5 separate regions of the Homo sapiens genome follow, and regions 2, 3, 4 and 5 are each linked to region 1. Evidence: promoter capture Hi-C in 16 types of primary human blood cells and fetal thymus (Javierre and others, 2016). All regions are on one chromosome and are shown on one strand. Each heading gives the region's core, a stretch centred on a gene start or on the middle of the fragment in contact. The rest is flanking DNA. Distances are from core to core; before and after follow the strand shown. Region 1 holds the start of KRT72 (keratin 72). Region 2 overlaps KRT79 (keratin 79). Region 3 has its middle 4.9 kb from the start of KRT85. Region 4 has its middle 8.5 kb from the start of KRT3. Region 5 has its middle 8.5 kb from the start of KRT76.

Region 1 (2,794 bases), core at 116-2,615:
AATTACCCCCAGGTACCATTTAACCAACCCATGAGGTCCCCAAGGGGAACCCAGCCTTCAGGGTATCACTGAAGGTGCAGTAACAAGCCTTGCCCTAAGCACTCTGCTGTTTCACAATCATCCTAAATGTCCCTTTGGCCAAGGCCTGGGCTGAGCACTGGGGGAGCAGAGGAGGGAAGGGTGAATCCAGGGGGCCCTGTCAATCTGATAGAGGAAATGGAACACACACCCAGGACTCTGGCAGCTTAAGAAATAAGAGCAATGAAATAATCCCACCTGCATGCCAGAGGAACAGGAGAGCTGTTGCTAAGAGAGGAGGAGACTTGAAGGCAGCTTAAGTTTGAGAAAAGGAAATCGGGTTAGGTGGAAGAAGGAGCCTCTGTAGCTTAAAGGGAATGAAGTTCTAGAATCTAGTTCTTGGTTTTAGATCTGAAGAGTCTTGACCTCTTCCTAATAACTGATCACATTTTGATGCTGAATCAGAAATGACTGGGTGGCAAATGACCTGAGCAGAGGTTTGCTGGATGGGATAAATAAGCCTCTTCTGCTATTAAAAGAAAACAAAAATGAAAACAACCGAAAGCCTTAGGAAACACCATCTGCTAAACCATGCCTGAGTCTTCCTGTACCACCTCCCCAGGCCTTCTTCCCTCCCTCCCAGATAGCATGGTCCCCATTCTTAGTCCAGAAATGCTTAGTGGAGAAATCTTTTCGCTCTGGTCCAAAGTCAACCCTCAACACTTGTGACCAGAGGTCTCTGTGTCCTGCCTTCTCCAACAGACTGAGAGGTCTCTGCAGACGGGGCCAAAATCTCCTCCTTCTGAACTTCCTTCTTGCACAAGGGACAGAGCTGTCCTCATCCAGAAGCCTGGGAGGCAGGAGGAGGACAGGCTAAGGATGATTTTCTGCGATAGTCTTGACTCTATTCATGGCCTTCTGAAGCAGAAGCAGCCTGGACTTCTGCTTCACACACCTCCGTCTCCCCAGACACACACCCAGAGGGTCAGCCCCACTGGAAGTTTCCAGGGGTGATCTTGGGAGTGATAACCCCAGTAATTGGAGGCCAGCAGGTGGAGATAAGGTCGCTAAGCCATGATAATGCAGGAGGTGAGCCAAGTAAATGCTGGGTTCTGGGTCACTTTACAGGGATTCATGGGGAGTTCACGGTGGAACAGACAAAAATCTCGGTGAGTGCATGGTAATTTCCTACATGAAGAACCCAAGAGGCCTCAAGGGATCTAAAAGGTGTTGTCGACATACAAATTAGGCTGACTCCAGCCAGCCAGGCTATTTAAGGGGCGAGCTGGGCCGAGAACGCAGCGGCTGTTTGCGCCCCTTCTGCCTCCCGCGCGGCCAGCACCGGTACTTGCGAGCCATGAGCCGCCAACTGACCCATTTCCCCCGCGGGGAGCGCCTGGGCTTCAGCGGTTGCTCCGCGGTCCTCTCTGGCGGGATCGGCAGCAGCTCCGCCTCATTCCGGGCCCGGGTCAAGGGCTCGGCCTCCTTTGGCAGCAAGAGCCTCTCCTGCCTTGGGGGCAGCCGAAGCCTGGCGCTCAGCGCTGCTGCACGGCGGGGCGGCGGCCGCCTGGGCGGCTTCGTGGGCACCGCCTTCGGCAGCGCCGGGCTGGGGCCCAAGTGTCCCTCCGTGTGCCCACCCGGGGGCATCCCTCAGGTCACCGTCAACAAGAGCCTCCTGGCCCCGCTCAACGTGGAGATGGACCCCGAGATCCAGAGGGTGCGCGCCCAGGAGCGGGAGCAGATCAAGGCGCTAAACAACAAGTTCGCCTCCTTCATCGACAAGGTGAGTCCTCGGGCATTGGCCTGTCCCTGCGTTGGGCGCATGTGCACAGTGGTGCTGGCTCTGCCACTGGCGAGCTGTGTGGGAGCGTGGGCGGGTCATAACCTCTCCGAGCCTCCCTTTTCCATTTGTAAAATGGGCACAATAATGGGTCTTACTCCAGTGGGTTGCGATGAGGCTTAATTGGGATGTTTACGAAGTGCTCAGAACAGTGCCTGGCACATACTTCCAATAAACAGGATGTATTAGCCCATTTTCATGCTGCTGATAAAGACATACCCGAGACTGGGAAAAAAAAAAAGAGGTTTCATTGGACTTACAGTTCTCCATGGCTGGGGAGGTCTCAGAATCATAACGGGAGGCCAAAGTCACGTCTTATATGGCGGCGGCCAGAGAAAAATGAGGCAGAAGCAAAAACGGAAACCCCTGATAAACGCATCAGATCTCGTGATACTTATTCACTATTAGGAGAATAGCAGGAGAAAGACCGGCCCCTATGATTCATTTACCTCCCCCCTGGGTCCCTCCCACAACACGTGGGAATTCTGGGAGACTTAATTCAAGTTGAGATTTGGGTGGGGACACAGCCAAAACGTATCAAGGACCTTCATTTCTTTCTTGCATGAGACAAGACTGTGAGAAGGGAGGGGTCAGGATGTCCAAGGAATGGGCACTTTGAGAGCTCCCAATATCAGAAGAGGAGATGGGACCCACATTCAGGGCAGGGCATTAGGAACAGAGGCCAAGAGACGTTGCAGGACATGGTGCTTGGTGCTTGAGGAGTGGGGTAAGTGTGTAGCCAGGAAGATGATAGAGGAGGTGAGAGAAAAGGGCCAGAAAACTGAAGGGTGAGGCTGAGGAGGCACTTGGAAAGAGTGCATGTAAAGTTACAGGTGTGTGCTGAGGGTGGGGCATCCAGAAATTGGGGTAATAGGGAAGTTGTCTCTGGAGCTTCTGAGGCAATGACCCCAGTGAGTGGAGAGGAGACAGGGAATG
Region 2 (2,794 bases), core at 116-2,615, 220 kb before region 1:
CAGTATGAGCTGATTGCCCAGAGGAGCCGGGCTGAGGCCGAGGCCTGGTACCAGACCAAGGTGAGAGGCATAGCTGGCTCAGGTGTGAGGCCTGGGGTCGGATCAGATCTCCCATCGTGAGAGGCTTGGGCCTCTGGGACCCTTGGAGTCCGGGGGGCCAGATATACTCAACTTGCATGGGGCCTCCAGCTGTGAGGGTGGGCTGGGGCCATTTGAAAGCGCACTGCCACTTCTTTGGTCCCCAGTATGAGGAGCTGCAGGTGACTGCTGGGAAGCATGGGGACAACCTGCGGGACACCAAGAACGAGATTGCTGAGCTCACCCGCACTATCCAGAGGCTGCAGGGGGAGGCTGATGCAGCCAAGAAGCAGGTGGGACTCTACTGGGGGCTTGGGGGTCTGGCCTAGGTGTTGGCAGGGCCTTCTCATTGTCACCCCGAGGGGCTAGGCCTGCTCTTCTCCTGACGGACACAATAGAATGCTAGGCCATTGATCACAGGCTCCTTTTACATGGGGGGAAACTGAGGCACAGAGCAGGAAGGAGCTTGTCCAACGTCACATGGTATATGAGTGGTAGAGCAGGTGGGACAACCTTCTCCAAGGAAACTGATCCATCCCATCTCCAGGAAGTCAGAACAGGAGGTAGAGGGTTCAAGGGGCCAGGTCACAGATGCTGATGCCGACTCCACCTTTAGAACGGCTAAAAAGTGTGGGTTCTTTCACAGATTAGAATGAAGCACCTGGTTACTAATAAGGCTGTGTTATTTATTTCATCTCTTCTGAGGCATTGGGCTGATCTGCAGCAGGAGGGGTTGAGGTTAGACTTCAGTAAGGACTTTCCCAGTGGCCTTACTTGATCCTGCTTGTGTAATAGCATCTCTTCAGATGAATATTTCTCTTCTCTCTTTCCCAGCTGGTTGGGGGCAGGGATGTGGGAATGATGATGTCTCCATGGCTTGAGGGCAGAGAGATGAATGGGATGACCCCGGAGGGTGCTTCCAACACCTTTCTCCCCTGGGCAGTGTCAGCAGCTGCAGACGGCCATTGCGGAAGCGGAGCAGCGTGGGGAGCTGGCACTCAAGGATGCTCAGAAGAAGCTTGGGGATCTGGATGTGGCCCTGCACCAGGCCAAGGAGGACCTGACACGGCTGCTGCGTGACTACCAGGAGCTGATGAATGTCAAGCTGGCCCTGGACGTGGAGATTGCCACCTACCGCAAGCTTCTGGAGAGCGAGGAGAGCAGGTGGTGGCCCCTCCTGCCCGACCCAGAAAGCTGGGTCGGGCCTGCCCTGGGGGAGAGCCCAGGGAGTCTGCTCCGGGGTCAAGAGAGGGAGAGAGGAACCAGGGAGCAAGATCCTGACTCACGCGGGGGGAAAATCTGCTTGTGCCCACTGCCTCCATCACTCCTCTCCTTGGTTGGCACAACTCTTGTTAATCTTTACTGTGGCTGACAGCCCGGTAGGAATGGAACTTCCTCTTCCACCAGCAGATTTCACCAGCAGTGGAAGCTTTGGAAAAAAAAATCCACCATCTCTGTCCTTAGGAAAAGCATGAAATAGAAAGTGGGCAGAAACTAGGCAGCTCTGTCTGGTCGTGGGCTTGTTTCCATTGGGGCAGGGATGCTGTCCGTAGCCCACATGGGCAGAGAGGAAAGAAAAGGGGAGGATGGGAGTTGGCACAGCCTACTGGTGGCTCTGCCCTTTCTGCAGCACTGGCTTTTGGACCTGGGCACAGCCCTATACACATACTTCTCATGTTTCCTGGTCTTGTCATCAGGATTCACTGAGTGGATCCAATGTAAAGGCAGAGGGAAGGAGAGGGTTTTCATGTGGGCACCAGGGATAACTGACTGCTCTCCTGGCCTTTCTGTGTCCCCTAGGATGTCTGGAGAATGTCCCAGTGCAGTCAGCATTTGTGAGTATTTACTCCCCACTTCCTGCTCCACCCCTGGCCAGGCCCCAGAACTCTGCTCAGTTTATGCAACCTGTACCTGTCCTAAAGCATGCTCTCCTCCATTCGAGCCCCTGGAGACAGGTTCAGAGGGTCCTAGTTCTGGGCTTCTCTATCCATTTCCCATAGCTCTGCTGCTTGATTTTGTTCTGATTCCCCACTGATTTCTGGGTCTCCCCCAGCCCTCTCTGGCATGGCCGCCCTGACTAATCCAGACCCTTTGCTTTGCAGCTGTGACTGGCAACTCCACCACTGTGTGCGGAGGTGGCGCAGCCAGCTTTGGAGGTGGCATCTCCCTGGGTGGGAGTGGGGGGGCCACCAAGGGTGGATTCAGCACAAATGTGGGCTATAGCACCGTCAAGGGAGGGCCAGTCTCTGCGGGCACCTCCATCCTGCGGAAGACCACTACGGTCAAGACGTCCAGCCAGAGGTATTAGCTGCTGAGCCCTGCAAGGGCCCCTGCAATCCTGTCCCTGCCCTCCTCACCCCACCTCTGCTGTCCTTTCCAGTCACTTCTCAGGAGCAGGAACAGCCAGGGGACCTCAGACCCAGGGTATTTTCATACCAGACTATTTGCATCTTGGGAAGCGCTCAAATCTACTCAGGTTTTCTCCTTGGTCCTGCAGTAGGATGGGAGGGAAGGTTAAAGTTGCCAGCTTGAGTGATGTGCTTGGGTGACTTGGGGGTGACCTTTTGACCACCGAGAGGAGGCTGAATTTCTCAAGCCATTAGGAGAGAGAGAAATTGGGAGTGGTCCCCAAAGACCCTTCAACCTCCCCAGTCCCCCACCAGACCCACCCTCTCCCTGAATCTACCCACATCCCCCTTCCCTGTCTGTGTCTCAA
Region 3 (2,794 bases), core at 186-2,685, 230 kb after region 1:
GTCTTCATTTTCTATATAGAAAATTCTAGGAAATCTTTATTTAAATATCTACTAGAGCTAATAAGTGACTTTAGGAAGGTTGCAGGATGCAAGGTCAATATACAGAAATCAATTGTATTTCTATACACCAGCAATGGAAATTAAAAAATTGTTGAAATATCATTTCCAATAGTACCATTTAATTCCAAAGGATAAATACTTAGGCATAAACCTTTAAAAAGTATATGAGGATCTGTATGCTGAAAACTACAAAACATTAATGAAAGAAATCAAAGAAAACTTAAATAAATAGAAAGATATACTGTGTTAATGAGCTGGAAGACTCAATATTATTAATATGTCAGTTATCTCCCAGAGATGACATAGGGGTCAAACCCATGGACAAGGGCACAGGCAGACCTGAGTTCAATCCCAGGTCTTCCACTTACTGGCTGCGTGACCAAAGGTAATGAGAGGTAACAATAATACCTAACATATGTTGAACTGAGTAGTGTTCCAAATAATTCTCACAGGTTAACTCATTTTATTCTTTCAATATCCTTAGGTGGTAGGTGCTTTTATTATTTCCCATTTGACAGATGACAAAACTGAGGCCCAGAGAGGTTAAATAAGTGGTGAGGCACAGGAGCTCTGACTCCTGAGCCCATGCTCACCACCACTGTGCTGTTCTGCCTGTCACGTAATCTCAATACGCCTCTTGCCTCATTTGTAAAATGGAAAAATATGTCGTACCTCAAAGAGATGTGGGGATGACATGCAATGGTAATCCAAGGTGCTTGGCACTCAACCTGGCCCACAGTGGGTACACAATTGCTTCAGTAGTGGTGGTGGTGGTGGTGTTTCTCTTTTGTCAATGAACAATAGCTTTGTCAGCAGCTCAGCCACTCCAGTACCAACCACAGGTGGATGCAGAAGCGTCAGGGACTGTCTCCAGCTTCCAAAGATCTGGAAACCAGAGCCAGCTGCAGGCAGATCCCTGGCCTTCTCTGCTTCTGCCACGACTGAACTGCTGCCAGGCCAGCTGTGGGAATTTGCTGCCCTCTTCTGGCCACCAACTTCGGACAAGAAGGCGTAGGAGATTTTCAAAGCAGGCTACCAGCAGGATTGGCTTGTGCAATATAGCAAGGAGAGGAGGGAGCTTAGAGTCTTGTAAAACCATTTTGTTTTTCTCCAGATTTGTAATTAGGACACAAACATAAAAACAATAAGTAACAGCTTTTAAAAATAAATCTATCTCCTTTCTCACCAGCCCAACCCAGCCGTTTTCACCGTTCTGTGTTCTTTGTCTCCATGGGTATTCAGAAAACCACAGCCTTGAAGCAGGAAAGAGCCAGGGAGGGGTCTTAGTCCCATGGCTTTCAAACTGCATGTGTTCCTCGGGGCTCAAGGGCCAAGGCTTCCCACAAGCTGTCATTTTCTGCCAAACCTCAAATATCTAAAGTATCCAAGATAGCCATTCATTTATACATTCATCAGTCAACAATATTTACTGAGCACTTACTATATTCCCAGCACTTTTCTAGGTGAACAAAATGAACAAAACAGACAAAATCTCTGCTTCCATGGAGTTTACTTTGGGGTGATGGGAAAAACAGACAATAATCCACAAATAGAATAAATAAGTAAATTCTGGACTGTGTTAAGTGTGATGGAAAAATAAATAAATAAGAGCAAGATAAGCTGGATGGAGAGTGCCCTGGGGTGGAGGGCAGGTTGCCATTTTTTTAAAGGGTCAGAGAGATGGTATAGGGGCAAAGCCCTGCAGGAGGCAATGGGCAAGCCACTTGGATGACAGGGGAGCATTTGGGTGGAAGAGACAGCAGGGCACAGGCCCTGAGTCAGGAGTGCACCCTGTCCTGGTGCTCCAGTGGGAGGTCACTGTGGTTGCTGAACACAGGGAGACCGGTGACAAAGGCCACAACACAGACAGGCAGTGCAGGGCCTTGTTGGCCATTGTTAGGACTCCAAGCAAAATGGGGAATTGGGTGTTTGAGCAGGGTAGAGACATGATCCAACTTATGTTTTACGGGGCTTACTCTCCTCGGCTGAGAATGGAGTTGGAGGGCCAGGGGCAAACAGGGAGACCAGCATGTCAATCTTATCTATTCTATAACTACATAAGTAAATACATGGCTTTATATAGCTGTTTTCCTCCTAGGATTTGGGGAGATGGCTCAACTGCCAAAAAGAAAAGAAAGAAAACATTTCAAAACCATTCATGCAGTACATTCCTGAAATCAGAGGCTCTGTAACGACTGAGCCACTGCTCTGATCCCGAGTAACCATGGAAAACAGCAAAGCACCAGGGAATGCTGCCAATAGGAAGGCACGTGGACAGAGTTCGGGAGGAGAATGGAGTTTCTTGGAGTTGCCGTGGAGCAGGCCAGGGAGCAGCTGTGTCAGCTGGGCACGGAACCCCGCCATGACACACTGGAGAACGTAGAGTTGCTCTGACCCTCCTTTCTCTCACTTAGGGTCCCTGAATCATGCCCAAGTCTTGTGAAAGTCAAAGAGAGGGAAAGAGGGCTAAGAAGAGCCTCCAAGAGCTGCGTCTCAGCAGCGGCAGTGGCGTAGCCTTAGATGCATAATAAAAGTGTGGCCAGCAGAGGCAAAGGGCGGTACCCAGTTTGAATCAGCTGTGCAGGCCTTGTCCATGGGGAGCCCATCAGGACTGACTGAGGGGGACCAGCCCACTAGGAGGGATGGGAAGACAACCCACAAGAGCCCAGGCAGGCACAAACACAAAACTGGGAGGACAGACAGTGCAGGATGGGGAAGGTGTCAGCACCCTCCT
Region 4 (2,794 bases), core at 163-2,662, 200 kb before region 1:
GTGTGCATGTGTGTCATTCTCCTAGAGTTTTCATGAGCTGCTCACTTCCCCAGCTCCTCAGGGGTGCCTGGGGTTATGTCTGTGGTGCTGTCCCTGAGTGGCGAAGAATGTTGGAGGTGGAGCAGGTCTTCTGGAGCAGGAGTGGAGGGAGCTGTCTAATTACAGAAGCGGGGAGAGGACAGTCAGAGGTGGGGGTCTGGGTAGATTTGGGGACACCCTTTTTCTATATTGGACCAATTCCAAGTACCTGGAGCAGCACAGTCTCCCCTCTTCCAAAGATTTCCCAGCTCCTGCTCTGCAGTCTGACTCGAATCAGTTTGCTGCAGATGCAGAATGCACTCTCTGCCTTGGCCACCCTACTGTGCCTCCCACCCTTGACTGCCGCAGAGTTCATTCAGACTCCAGTTCCTCCAGCCCTGTGTCCATGGGGCCTCATGGTGTGCAGGCAGAAAGGCACGTCGTTTGCCCAAGACCAGTCCTTGCCCATGGGAGTCTCGTGCAGATCCAAGGTAGGCTCAGGGTTGTTCTGCCTTTGGGAAAGCGGGGACAGAGTAGCAAAGGGTTAATCTCAGGGGCTTGTGCTCTCTGGGCAGGGGACTTTGCCAGGAGCAACCTGGGCTCTGTCCTTCATCAGCCTGGCCCTAATATCCCCATTGTCTTAGGGCTCATTGAGCCCCATGTGTCAGAACAGGAAGTCTCTGCAGCTGCATTTGGTGGCTTTGGCTTCTTCCAAGGGCTGCACTCCTCCCCTGGCAAAATGCAGATGGGCTCTTTTTTTTTTTTTTTTTTGAGTTTCTGGGAGTGGTGAGGAGGAGTTAAAGGTTGGAACTAGGGGTGGAGCTTCTCAGGTTCACCCACCAGGAGGCTGCAGGTTGTGTTGGGCCTCACAGAGAGGCAAGGGGCAGGTTAAAGCATTTCTCATGCCCCCTGAGTGTGGGAGCAGCCAGCCTGAGCAGCCCTCCGTGCCTCTCAGCATCTCTTTGGTTGAACTCAGTGATTTACACTGCAAGGTCAGGCCGTAGATTATACGCGTGTATGTGCATCTTAGAATAAATGTGTTTGTATTCATAGGCACATGGCTATGTGAGTGTGTCAGCGTTTCTTATTTATATAAAAAGTCTCTTAGGTCGGGCACGGTGGCTCACACCTGTAATCCCAGCATTTTGGGAGGCCAAGGGGGGCGGATCATGAGGTCAACAGATCGAGACCATCCTGGCCAACATGGTGAAATCTCGTCTCTATTAAAAATACAAAAATTAGCCTGGTGTGGTGGCAGGCGCCTATAATCCCAGCTACTCGGGAGGCTGAGGCAGGAGAATCCCTTGAACCCAGGAAGCAGAGGTTGCAGTGAGCCGAGATCACACCACTGCACTCCAGCCTGGCGACAGAGTGAGACTCTGTCTCAAAAAAAAGTCTTCTATTTTACATAAAAAGGAAAAGCCCTCATGTTGGTCTCTGTTTCTAGAACAGTCCAGGAGAGTGGATCCTGGCCTTGATTCATATGTTTGAAACTGGCTGGCTAGTCAGAGGGGATTATTTGGGGTAAATATACTGCTGAGATAATAGACACCACCCTTCTCTCTGATCCTTCGAATTGGATTCTGGCCAGCTCCTAGTGCTTAGGAAACAGGGAGACATGGCTTGCATTATTTACCCCGTTGGAGGCCCCATGCTCTCCCTTTTCTTTTAAATCCTTTACCTCTAAGTATACGGAAATCACTTTTCACATCTGAAGAGCCCAACTGCAGGTTGGCAAATCTCTAACTTGGTTTATTTGGCTCATCTGCCCTGACTCCATTCCCCAAGATCTTGGCTCCCAGCCCTGGCTGCAGCCCCACCATCACTTTGGCTCAGGCACCTGTCAACTCCTGAACAACTGCTATGTTTGCATAGATCCCTCCCACCTCACCAAGACCCTCCGCTCTGGGTTCAGCCCTCTCAGTTCCAGAAAGTTCTCACCAATACTTCTGAAGTCTCCCTACCTCGTTGCTAGTAAACCCAGAAGGTTATAGCAAAGAGGGGCTTATTTCATGTCCCACTGTGGGGTTTTGTTTTAACTTGCTGACGGGGCCCAGGCTTTGTGTTCTAAGACCAGAGGACCTCAGAATAAGGCATGGCTGCTCCCATGTCTTGGGTGGATGTTCAGGGTTTAGTGAGACAGCTACGTGGGGAAATAGTTGAGGGGGCTGTGCCCCCTTTGTGGGCCCTCAGGACATGGTAACAGTGGGCCAACGAGGGACAAAGGGAGGGAGCAGGCTGAAAGGAAAAAAGCCATTTTAGCACCTGTTCCATTTTTTTTCCCGTGTTGATGGTAGGGTCTGAACAGTCATCTCGTTATTCCACTAAGAGGGCTGGGAGTGTAGAGTTGTGGCCATGAAGGGTCTTGGTGGTGGGAGCCCCAGGACTCAGGCTCATTGCTGCCCATGGTTTTCTGGTTTGGCTTTGGGTCAAGGTAGGATTGTTCTGCATCTGCAGTTTTTTTACTTTGAGTGTTGTGGATTTGATCCTTAAAAATTCGAGAAAGTGGGTGAGAAGCTAGATAAGCTGGGAAGACATTTTCTGGAGAAAGTGTTTGGACTGTCATTTGCCATCCACCCATTCATCCATCTACTCATCCATCCGTCCATCCATCCATCCATCCATCCATCCATCTATGATCCATCCATCATCCATCTATTCATCCATCCATCCACCCAGCCATTCACTCATTTACTCAACAAACCACTAGTCTATAAATTATTTATGGGCAGGAACCATGACTTTATTCATCTTGACATTCCAGGGCCACTGTGCT
Region 5 (2,794 bases), core at 101-2,600, 180 kb before region 1:
TGGCTGGATATTCTCAGCCCAGCACTGACTGTTTCTTTCTTTCTTTATTTTTTGAGATGGAGTCTCCCTATGTCACTCAGGCTGTAGTGCAGTGGCACTATCTTGGCTCACTGCAACTTCTCCCTCCTGGGCTCAAGTGATTCTTGTGCCTCAACCTCCTGAGTAGCTGAGATTATAGGTGCAAGCCACCAAGCCCAGCTAATTTTTGCATTTTTAGTAGAGATTGCCATGCTGGCCAGGGTGGTTTCTAACTCCTGACCTCAGGTGATCCGCCCGCCTCTGCCTCGCAAAGTGCTGGGATTACAGGCATGAGCCACCGCGCCCTGCCAGGCCCTGACTGTTTCTAATCCAGGCTGAAAACCCCTTGCAGGGAACTTCACCTGCTTCTCAGTGCTCCTTCTTTTCCTTTGCCTTAGCATTTGCATAGTTTTTTTGCACAATTCTATGTTGACTTTTCAAGAGCTCTTAAGTCACTGGGCTTGAGTTTGCTTTCTTGTACTTGACTAGACTTTTCATTCTTCTAGTACATAGTGAGTCCTGTGTTGTCCATGCTTTTCCTGTCCTCTAAGGCATACTTTTGCCCACAAAGAGCTCACAGTGATTGTTGAATAATGCCTACTTGTGAGCCTGGATCCTAAACTGGGATTTGGGGTCTTTGGCCAATGGTCAAGAATTTCTTTGCTCTCTCTTCCACATCTCTCTTTCCTGGGTGTGGAGAGGTATATCCACTTGCAATGAAAAAGAGGAATCAACTTCTTTTTTTTTCTTTCTTTCTTTATTATTATTATACTTTAAGTTTTAGGGTACATGTGCACAATGTGCAGGTTAGTTACATATGTATACATGTGCCATGCTGGTGCGCTGCACCCACTAACACGTCATCTGGCATTAGGTATATCTCCTAATGCTATCCCTCCCTCCTTCCCCTACCCCACAACAGTCCCCAGAGTGTGATGTTCCCCTTCCTGTGTCCATGTGTTCTCATTGTTCAATTCCCACCTATGAGTGAGAATATGCGGTGTTTGGTTTTTTGTTCTTGCTATAGTTTACTGAGAATGATGATTTCCAATTTCATCCATGTCCCTACAAAGGACATGAACTCATCATTTTTTATGGCTGCATAGTATTCCATGGTGTATATGTGCCACATTTTCTTAATCCAGTCTATCATTGTTGGACATAGAGGAACCAACTTCTACCCTACGCCTCTATCTATCTATCTATCTATCTATCTATCTATCTATCTATCTATCTATCATCATCTATCCCCTCCAACCACCCCCACACTGTCTTCCCCAGAAGAAATGCTCAAAAGAGTGTTTTCCTGTTCTAAGAGCTTGCGGACTCACTGGTTCACTTCCCATTAGGAAGACCAAGTTGTGTTTTTAGATTTCAGGTTTTCCTTCTATATCTTTGTGAGAATACAGGCTACATGTCAGAGCAAGTATCAGTGGTAACAGTGTCACACCTATGAAAGGCTCAGTTAAGGAAATCAGAGGGTTGTTTTCCACAAGAATTTGAAAGTAGTTCAGCGCTTGCCTATGGATAATCTAGACTTGACTGCTGATGATCAAGTTTTGCATGTAACGTTTTGTGTAATTTGCAGGTAAATCTCTACATGACTCTTCTCTGTTTTGCCTAGAACTGGGTGGAGTGTTTGTTAGCCAAGCATCAGAGATCTCACTTTCTGGGATTTGGACTGCCTCTTCTCTCTGCCTTCTCAGCACTTCAGCCCATGTGTATTCTCCCTCTATGCAAAGACAAAGACAAAGACAAAAAGTGTGGGAACCTTGAGATAATCTTGGGATGACCGAGAAAAACTCACTTAAGTTCTGAAAATGCTTCTTCACACATTTTATCTGAATCTTCACTACATCCTTCACAAGCCCTTCTGGCATACACATTGTCTAACACACATCTCTGTTGTGCCTAAGATAGAGCTAATCCCCATCAACACTTCCAGTCCAGGCTGAAGGCTGAAGGTGACTTGGCTCTCCTAGGGAACCATTGATGGAGGTGTGCTGGGAGAATCTGATACTTTTGGAATCTGTGGTGATGAGACTGAATGGTGACAGCTCCGTCAACCACTGGAGAAGACGGTGGCAGGAGAAGGTGACTCTAGGTGGAACTAATGCTGTGACTCTCAGTGGGGGCAATTTTGCTCCCCAGGGAACATATAGCAATGTCTAGTGACATTTTTGGTTGTCACAAGTCGGGGAGTGCTACTGGCATCTAGAGAGTAGAAGCCAGGTTGCTACTAAACATCCCACATCACACAAGCCAGCCCCCTTCAACATATAAACAGCCAGCCTCAAATGTCCACAGTGCCACTGCAGAGAAAGCTGTGCCAAACAAGAGGTCGTCTCATTCATTTCTCTCCTTGGGAGAAGATCTTTAGTTACAGTGATATGGGTTATAGTTGAACTGGATAGAGATCCTTGTGGATTTGAGGGAAGTATGTATTTGTAGAAGTTTTTTTTTTTTTTTTTTATGAGATGGAGTCTCGCTCTGCCACCAGGCTGGAGTGCAGTGGCATGATCTCAGCTCACTGCAACCTCCACCTCATGGGTTTAAGTGATTCTCCTGCCTCAGCCTCCCGAGTAGCTGGGACTACAGGTGCATGCCACCATGCCTGGCTAATTTTTTTTTTTTTTGTATTTTAGTAGAGACCGGCTTTCACCATGTTGCCCAGGCTGGTCTCGAACTCCTGAGTCAGGCAATCTGCCCGCTTCGGCCTCCCAAAGTGCTAGGATTACAGGCATGAGCCACCATGCCTGGCCGAAGTTTGTTTATT

The links. Contacts are between HindIII fragments. The CHiCAGO score rates a contact against its expected background, and 5 or more counts as called.
Region 2: a contact is called between a fragment that was not itself captured here and the fragment with the promoter of KRT72 in region 1, in 1 of 17 cell types (total CD8 T cells). The highest score is 6.6, in total CD8 T cells.
Region 3: a contact is called between a fragment that was not itself captured here and the fragment with the promoter of KRT72 in region 1, in 2 of 17 cell types (M0 macrophages and M2 macrophages). The highest score is 5.6, in M0 macrophages.
Region 4: a contact is called between a fragment that was not itself captured here and the fragment with the promoter of KRT72 in region 1, in 9 of 17 cell types (total CD8 T cells, M2 macrophages, naive CD8 T cells and 6 more). The highest score is 7.6, in total CD8 T cells.
Region 5: a fragment that was not itself captured here is called in contact with the fragment with the promoter of KRT72 in region 1 in 3 of 17 cell types (total CD4 T cells, M2 macrophages and total CD8 T cells); the score reaches 5.6 in total CD4 T cells.

Annotation. Positions count from the first base shown.
Region 1 is chr12:52,600,034-52,602,827 of GRCh38, reverse strand. It overlaps KRT72 (keratin 72), which reads left to right and starts at 1,365. Exons shown (of 9, transcript NM_080747.3): 1 at 1,365-1,801. The coding sequence starts at 1,376. The HindIII fragment of the contact is 8,078 bases long and covers 1-2,794 here.
Region 2 is chr12:52,821,464-52,824,257 of GRCh38, reverse strand. KRT79 (keratin 79) reads left to right here. Exons shown (of 9, transcript NM_175834.3): 5 at 1-60; 6 at 246-371; 7 at 1,022-1,242; 8 at 1,879-1,913; 9 at 2,181-2,794. The coding sequence ends at 2,386. Among named protein-coding and RNA genes, the nearest start is that of KRT4, 8.7 kb to the right of the region's middle. The HindIII fragment of the contact is 288 bases long and covers 1,222-1,509 here.
Region 3 is chr12:52,370,984-52,373,777 of GRCh38, reverse strand. No RefSeq gene overlaps it. Among named protein-coding and RNA genes, the nearest start is that of KRT85, 4.9 kb to the right of the region's middle. RefSeq lists a cis regulatory region at 999 and an enhancer at 915-1,084. The HindIII fragment of the contact is 4,826 bases long and covers 1-2,794 here.
Region 4 is chr12:52,803,203-52,805,996 of GRCh38, reverse strand. No RefSeq gene overlaps it. Among named protein-coding and RNA genes, the nearest start is that of KRT3, 8.5 kb to the right of the region's middle. The HindIII fragment of the contact is 4,113 bases long and covers 1-2,794 here.
Region 5 is chr12:52,784,437-52,787,230 of GRCh38, reverse strand. No RefSeq gene overlaps it. Among named protein-coding and RNA genes, the nearest start is that of KRT76, 8.5 kb to the right of the region's middle. The HindIII fragment of the contact is 6,807 bases long and covers 1-2,794 here.